Linked DNA regions of Homo sapiens: region 2 is linked to region 1. Evidence: promoter capture Hi-C in human tissues and cell types (Jung and others, 2019). All regions are on one chromosome and are shown on one strand. The core of a region is centred on a gene start or on the middle of the fragment in contact, and the rest is flanking DNA. Distances in the headings are between cores, read along the strand shown. Region 1 holds the start of LRRC69 (leucine rich repeat containing 69). Region 2 overlaps NECAB1 (N-terminal EF-hand calcium binding protein 1).

Region 1 (3,793 bases), core at 367-2,866:
AATGCATTAGCATCCTCTCAGTGCTGTTTTCCTGCTAGTGAGTGAGTGAGTTATCCTGAGATCTAGTTGTTTATGTGTGTAGCACCTCCTTCCTATCTTCCTCCAGCTCTGGCCATGTGAAGTGCTGGCTCTCCCTTTGCCTTCCACCATTATTGTAGGCTTCCTTAGGGCTCCCCAGAAGCTGAGCAGATGCCAGCACCATGCTTCCTGTATAGCCTGCAGAACTGTGAGCCAATTAACCCTCTTTTCTTTATAAATTACCTAGTCTCAGGTATTTATAGCAGTGCGAGAATGGACAAATACAAACCCCTATGTGTCTATTACTCAGCATTAATAATTATCAACATTTTGTCAATCTTGTTTGATCAGTTTCTTCCACCCACTTTCCCCCCTAGATTATTTTTAAAAAAACTCAAGATATCATTTTATTTCACTTGAAAATTTCAGTATGCATTTCTGAATGTTAAGCACATTTAAAATAAATACTACCACCATACCATTTTCACATGTAACAGAATTAATTTCTCTCATCTAATAGCCGATGAACAAATTTCCCTGAGATGTTTGTATTCAACTGAGGATTCAAATACAGTCCAGACATTGCATTTAGCTGTTATTTGCCCTAAGTTTCACTTACATCGTAACAGTTTTCCCTCCTTTTTATTAATGTCTTTCATTTGTTGGTGAAACCTTGTGACATTGGACCAGGGACCAGTCCTGTAGAATCTTCCATGTTATAGATTTGACTGTTTCCCTATAATGAACTTAACTTATTCTCTAGTTCTGTTTTTTTGTAAATGGTAGTTAGATCTTGAAGCCATGATTAGATTCAGATTTAATTTTTGGACAGGAACATTTCATAGGTGGTGCTGCTGTGTACTTTTTAATTCATTACTTCATAAGGCTTATAATGTGATTGTCTCAATTTTATTGATGCTAAAATGATTAGTGGGTTATTAACCTGATCACTTGATTATAAAGTTCCTCATCAACCTTTCATCTAATACTTTCAGTCTCCAATTATGATTTTTGCATAGCTCCATTATTTTATTAGAATTTGCAAAAATTGTGATTATTCTAGTTATTTTGTCTTTCTCATTTATTAGTTTCAATTCTTGTGAATAAGAACTTTATTAACTATTAAGTTATATTTAAGTGCAGTTTGTACTGGAAAAGCAGAATAAATGCTTATATTTTTTCCTTTATCAATTTTCAGACTGAGTTGGTGCGCTAGTAATTCCCAGGGTGAGTAATGTTTCTTTTTAAAAAATGCCATTATGAACTCAGATTTTAATGTGTTTTGATATGTTTCAGTCTATTCTAGATTATTTCTTTCTGATCCTTAATATTTTCCATCTTAGACTAGTGGGAGCTCCTAGAAGTTCACTTCTGTGTCCTCATTAATCTCTGATAGCTTTAATATCGCAGGCATAAGCTATTTTAGGCTTACATTATACATTTCCTGCCCCAAACCTGGACCATCTACTTTCCTTTCGTATCTTTCACATAGGAAAATAATCTAATGCTTCCCCCCTTCAACATGGTGGATCTCAGAATGTTCTTGTTTCTATGACACACCAATTCTGTAATTAGAGGTTCTAAAGCTGTATAATAAAGAACTCTAATGGTTACCTTGTTTTCTACTTCTTTTCCAAGATCATGACTGAGAGATTGTTAATAAAAGCATTGAGTGGTGGTAAAAATACGAAGATCATTACTTTGAATGGGAAGAAGATGACAAAGATGCCCTCAGCATTAGGAAAACTGCCTGGCCTGAAGACTCTAGTCCTTCAGAATAACCTAATCCCCAAAGTGTGTCCAGAGTTATGCAACTTGACCCAGGTGAGGAACAGTGTTTTGCTGTTGTGGTTTGGTATTGAAGATGGAAAACAGGAAGAGAGAAAAAAGGGGTAAGAGACAGAACAATAACACTTCGATCTATGGAGACTTAGGTATCTGGAGACTTAATGTGGAGTGTTGCTGGAGAGGCATCAGAAGGCTTTCTCCCTTAGGGAATTCCATGTGGTAGGGAGAGATGTTTCAATTTATTCATGTGCTCTTTGGCCCACATCTGGAGTCAGGGGACTAGGTCTCTGCCACACTCATCTTTTTAGAGGCTGTCATCTGGAAAGGGGTTGGAAACCTGGATCTGGTCGTCTATCTTGGGGGCTTACATCTGGAAGTAGTTTTGAGGATCCAGGAGATGCTGTTCACCCTGGGGACTGTCCTGAAGCTTTTGCATTTAGAATGAAGAGACATTTAGGATGCAGCAAGGGAGTTCCTTTTCAATTTCCTAGGGCAGGCTGAAACTTTGAAATGGAGTGTTGGCAGGGAATAGGAAGGAGGGGACATTTATTTCTCCTGAAATAGTCTTTAAAGGAAGTTTAATATTTTAAATAAAAAATATTCTTTTTTAAAGAGGAATAGTTGACATGAATGAATCCCATATGCTTGTGTTAAACCTTTCTGCCTAACAATGTGAAACTCTAGCTGCCAAAAATCTTGAGGTTGAGAGAAGGCAAGGGATATTAACTTTGTAATTTTCTTTTTGTTCACTGCTGAATTGTCATCAGCACAGGAAGAACCTAGAAGCAGCTAAGGCGTTATAGCTCATTAATTTTGAATTTACAGTTCCAAAAAATAAATCTGTATTTTCTTACTTTCACCCTACCTCATTTCCTTTTACGTTTAAGAAATTGAGTTTGTAATCTGTAGTTGTATCTTTATAAGAAATAGGGTAACTTTTACAAAGTCCCCCTTCATTAGTAATTGCAGAAGGTATACTTGTAGTTACAAGACAACAAGGACTTGGAATTTTTTAATAGGAAAGAGGAGTTTCTTTGCAAAAGAATTTGGGACTTGACTGAGTCATGAACCTATTCTCTCCCTCTATTTGAATTTATTTCCATTAAAGTAGTACTAACCATTGGTTACCGAGAATTAAATATTACAAAAAGCTTATAGCAAGAAGCTATCTTCTATCCCACTTCCCCTCATCCTCAATCCCGATCTCCATATATAACCACTTTTAACTCATCTATTTTATTGATTTGTCTATTTTTGGCATCATTTTTCTTCATCTTCTAGATACAGTTATATTAATGTATCTATTGTGTATTGATCCACATCTGGAATCAGGGGATTAGGTCTACAGGTATCTTTTACATGTAATGTTACTACACCTTTATTTCTTCCTTCATCAACTGCAGTCTCTTTTGACTCCCCACTTCGTAAGATGACAGTGTCAGCCTTTGTAATCCACCTTCAGCTGTCCTTTCCTCTCCCCCCTCACAAACTCTGAAGTTTTTACTTTTATAACACTTACAGCTTTTATATCCTATTCAGTTATAACCATAATTAAATATTTGTTTTGTGTCTTGGGTAACTCTAAACTTCTAAAAATATATATTACTAATAAATAAATATTCACATGGAGTCAATTAATCTATGATTATATTTTCTTTCTTATATGCCATTTTTGTTCCCTTGGAGTTTCTAATAACCTTTCCTTTGTTCTTGTGCCTTAGTTTTATGGTAGCCTCATTTTATTTCAAACTGTATAATTTTTTTCTGTCAAATGTACTTTTCCTTGAGAGACTTCCCTCTAAGACCCTCCATCCTCTGCCCCACTCTATGTTGACTGCTATCTAGGTTTGCTAGATACTGTCAGCCAAGGACATTCCCTTTGTTGCTCTCTTAAATTGGACCCACTGTTTCCTGTATCCTGTATTTTCCTTTCTTGGCTTGCTCTCTTAGTTTTTCAGGAGTCTCGAGAAATCATCCTAGTCTGGGT
Region 2 (3,793 bases), core at 326-2,825, 150 kb before region 1:
TCCTGGTAATTATCCTGGGTTTACAATGCTTCTGTGTCCTTTTGTATTTTTGTTTGTTTGTTTCGTAAAAGATAGTATGCTCTTTCCTTCTATATTTTATCAATGGTACTCTCTTATTTATTTCTTTATATATTTTATGATTTGAGATTGGGGGGAAGAAATAAAAGATCTATATATTTGTTCTATTTTGTCCTTAGTTGACCCTATTTGTATTCCCAGCTATACTGAACCATTAGTCATTTGCTAATCATATTAACAAACTTGAAGTACCACCAAATCATATTTCAAAAAATTATTCAAATATTTTATCATATTGTAATTTAGTGTACTGGATACAATTTGTTCATCTACCCATCCAATTACTGATTAAATATATATTTACTGAGTATTAATATGTGCTAGGCATCAGGGTGTTTAGCCTAATTTACTGGTACTGATTGAGCTCCATTTCTGAACAAGCACTGTGTTGGGAGCTACAAAGGGTACAAACTAAAGGCAAAATCCCTACCCATAAAGTGCTTTCTGTCCAGCTTCACAGAAACGTTTGCAAAGACAAATTTTAGCAGAAAAAAAAAACCCAGCTAAGGGAATAAAATAGCTGTCACCATTAGAGATAATATGTGTTTTGTGGACTTGGAGAAGTGATTACTTCTTTAATAGTTTTTAAGAAAATGACTTGAGCTAGTCCTTAAAAGATGAGATGTGGAAAAGTAAAGATGGAGAGGAAGGGTCCTTTGGTAAATTTGGACATGAACAAATGCAAGAAGTGTGAATGTGCTTTATAGGTGCAAAGGTGTCACTAAGGCATAAAACTTACAGTACAAGTGGAGACAGACGAGAGAGTAAGAAGTGAGGTTGAGAATGTCATAATGAGGCTTTTGAACAGCAACCTGGAGTAATTTAAAGTTTTGAAAGGGATGGTGACATGTTCTAATCAGTAATAACTGACAGGAGGGAGAAAGGTGGATGTCATGGAGAGGAGAGAGATTAACCAATTAGGGCAATAATCTAGGCCAGGGAAGAAAAAAAAAAAAACCTGCACCAGGAAATAGCCAGAGTTTGGGACTCCAGTTGCAGATGTAATTTTCAGGAGTTAACCACAGCAAGATGATTGTTGAAGCCTGGGATTGGTAAGAAAGTATGTAGGTAAGAACAAAATATCTAAGAGAAGCTTGGGGAGATGCCTTTCTTTAAGCAGTGGAGTATCAAGGAAACCAAAAGAGTAAAATGCAAAGATACAGTGCTCCTGGGGATGAGTGGGGGATGTATAGTGTTATGATGTTATAAATGGGAGGAAGGCTGGGCGCGGTGGCTCACGCCTGTAATCCCAGCACTTTGGGAGGCTGAGGTGGGCGGATCACAAGGCCAGGAGCTCGAAACCAGCCTGACCAACATGGTGAAACCCCACCTCTACTAAAAATACAAAAAGTAGCTGGGCATGGTGGGGCATGCCTGTAATCCTAGCTGCTCAGGAGGCTGAGGCAGGAGAATTGCTTGAACCCAGGAGGCGGAGGGTTGCAGTGAGCCAAGATCGCACCACTGCACTCCAGACTGGGCGACAGAGCGAGACTCCATGTCAAAAAACAATAATAATAAAATTAAAATAAAATAAAATAAAATAGGGAGAAAAATCTTAGAATACAACTTCTGTAAATATGACTGCTGCAAGCTTTGTACATAGAATGCAGGAAAGTGAGATCCACATTTTATTTATCTTCACATTCCCTACCCTATTACAGTATTACTATAGTACAGTATATGGCAAGAAGAAATTATTTCCTAAATGAAGGAATGAATAGGACTTTGGCATCATCATAAATATATTGGTCTTCGGTCAAAATTTCCACGAAGTCCTGACACTTGTAATTTTTGTGTCTGTCATCACACCCATTTCCATCTCTCCCAAACCAATGTGGAAAGAAAGGAACAAAGCTTGTTCTTATTAGTGTCTTGAGTCTTTCCAGGACAGAAACAACCTGATCAAAAATAGAGTAGGAAAAGAGGATAGAACAGGAGGCTACTGAATTATCAGTGAGGGGGAAAATGCTATAGCAAGAATTGAAAATGTGGACTAATCTGATAGTTTTCTGACCCAACTTTATCATTATCTGGAATTATTTTCTAGACACTACTAGTGTCATTGGCACATATATTACTCTTTCTCTCTCAGAGCATTTCCTAATTTAGAAAGAAAAACTGACTACAGATAAAACTGGATCAATTCTTGTTCTGTGAATCCAGGCTCAATACAATTTAATGTCTTTTAATTGCTGCCCTATTTTGTATTAATTTCATGTTACATTTAATTTCAACAATGATTACTGGAATTTCGTAGAACAAGAGGAAAAGTTAGGCTTGATTTTTGACACAATTTTAAAACCTACAACATTTTGACATTTATTGGGACATCCCACCTTATTTTAAAGTTTTATCACTGTGACAGCAGGCCTATTCCAGTAAGCAGAAGCTAGCATATAAATATTATTTATGGGTTTTAATGGCCATATAACTTCTAACACTATTTTTAAAAACCAGTTTTGTACATTTTGTGTTATAATGGTTATGAAGATTAAAAATAAAAATAATTAGCTGGGCGCTATGGCTCACGCCTGTAATCCCAGCACTTTGGGAGGCGAAGGTGGGCAGATGACCTGAGGACAGGAGATCGAGACCAGTGGCCAATATGGTGAAATCCTCTCTTTACTAAAAAATACAAAAAATTAGCCAGGCATGGTGGTGCATACCTGTAATCCCAGCTACTTGGTAGGCTGATGCAGGAGACTCACTTGAACCTGGGAGGCAGAGGTTGCAGTGAACTGAGTTCGTGCCAGTGCACTCCAGCCTGGGTGACAGAACGAGACTGTCTCAAAATAAATAAATAAATAAATAAATAAATAAATAAATAAATAAATAAATAGCTGCACATATTTATACCTAAAATTAAAATCTGAAAGAAAAAAAGCAGATATTACATTTAAAAATGCAGTATGAATAAGTTTGTATTTCTAATTTTACTCACAAATTATGATTTCTGGTAAGATTGCTTTTTATGGTTAAGACTACTAAGTGGTTTACCTAAGATACATCTAAAGTAATTAAGCAACTAAGCCAGATTGCATCCAGATATGAAAATATACACTATAATATATTCCAATGACCTCTCAAGTATAAAATCATTCAAATGAAGCATACTGGAATATGGCAGCCCAAACCACCCAGACAAAAGGAGTATATAAACTTGGTCTGTGGAGCAGAATGTCCATTGGTAATAACAGAAAAACCTACGGTTATGGGAAAACAGGATACAAAAAAAAAGATCCTATTGCCAGCAAATTACTTGAACAGTTTTGAAAGCAAATTTCAATCCTTTCCATTTATCTGTTTCTTACAGCATTCCACCAATCATACATCTTTGCCATTGGTTTGTTTTCAGGATATCTATATTCACTGGGATAAACATTTATAATTTTAACATACAGATATACTAAAATATTATTTATAACCTACTTGCTTATACCCAATATTTATGAGATCCTATGTGTATAAATATATGGTATTTATAAATATCATATAGGTATAAATATATGTATAATAAATCACACATGTATTTATATGTATATTATATATTATACATAAGCTGCATATATTTATAAATATATGTATACATATGCATATATGTATATTATGTGTATGCATATGCATATATGTATGTGTATACAAATGCATATGTATTATATGTATACATACATGTATACATATTATATGTATATATTATGTGTGTACATATATGTAT

What was found. The method cuts DNA at HindIII sites, captures the fragments that hold promoters and counts their contacts. A contact is called where the count stands out against the background at its distance.
Region 2: a contact is called between a fragment that was not itself captured here and the fragment with the promoter of LRRC69 in region 1, in 3 of the 25 tissues and cell types used here (H1 embryonic stem cells, hippocampus and psoas muscle).

What each region holds. Positions count from the first base shown.
Region 1 is chr8:91,101,003-91,104,795 of GRCh38, forward strand. It overlaps LRRC69 (leucine rich repeat containing 69), which reads left to right and starts at 1,617. Exons shown (of 8, transcript NM_001129890.2): 1 at 1,617-1,842. The coding sequence starts at 1,660. The HindIII fragment of the contact is 5,612 bases long and covers 1-2,595 here.
Region 2 is chr8:90,951,200-90,954,992 of GRCh38, forward strand. It overlaps NECAB1 (N-terminal EF-hand calcium binding protein 1), which reads left to right. Exons shown (of 13, transcript NM_022351.5): 12 at 1-5. It also overlaps a transcript of LOC105375634 not described here. Among named protein-coding and RNA genes, the nearest start is that of C8orf88, 32 kb to the right of the region's middle. The HindIII fragment of the contact is 5,493 bases long and covers 1-3,793 here.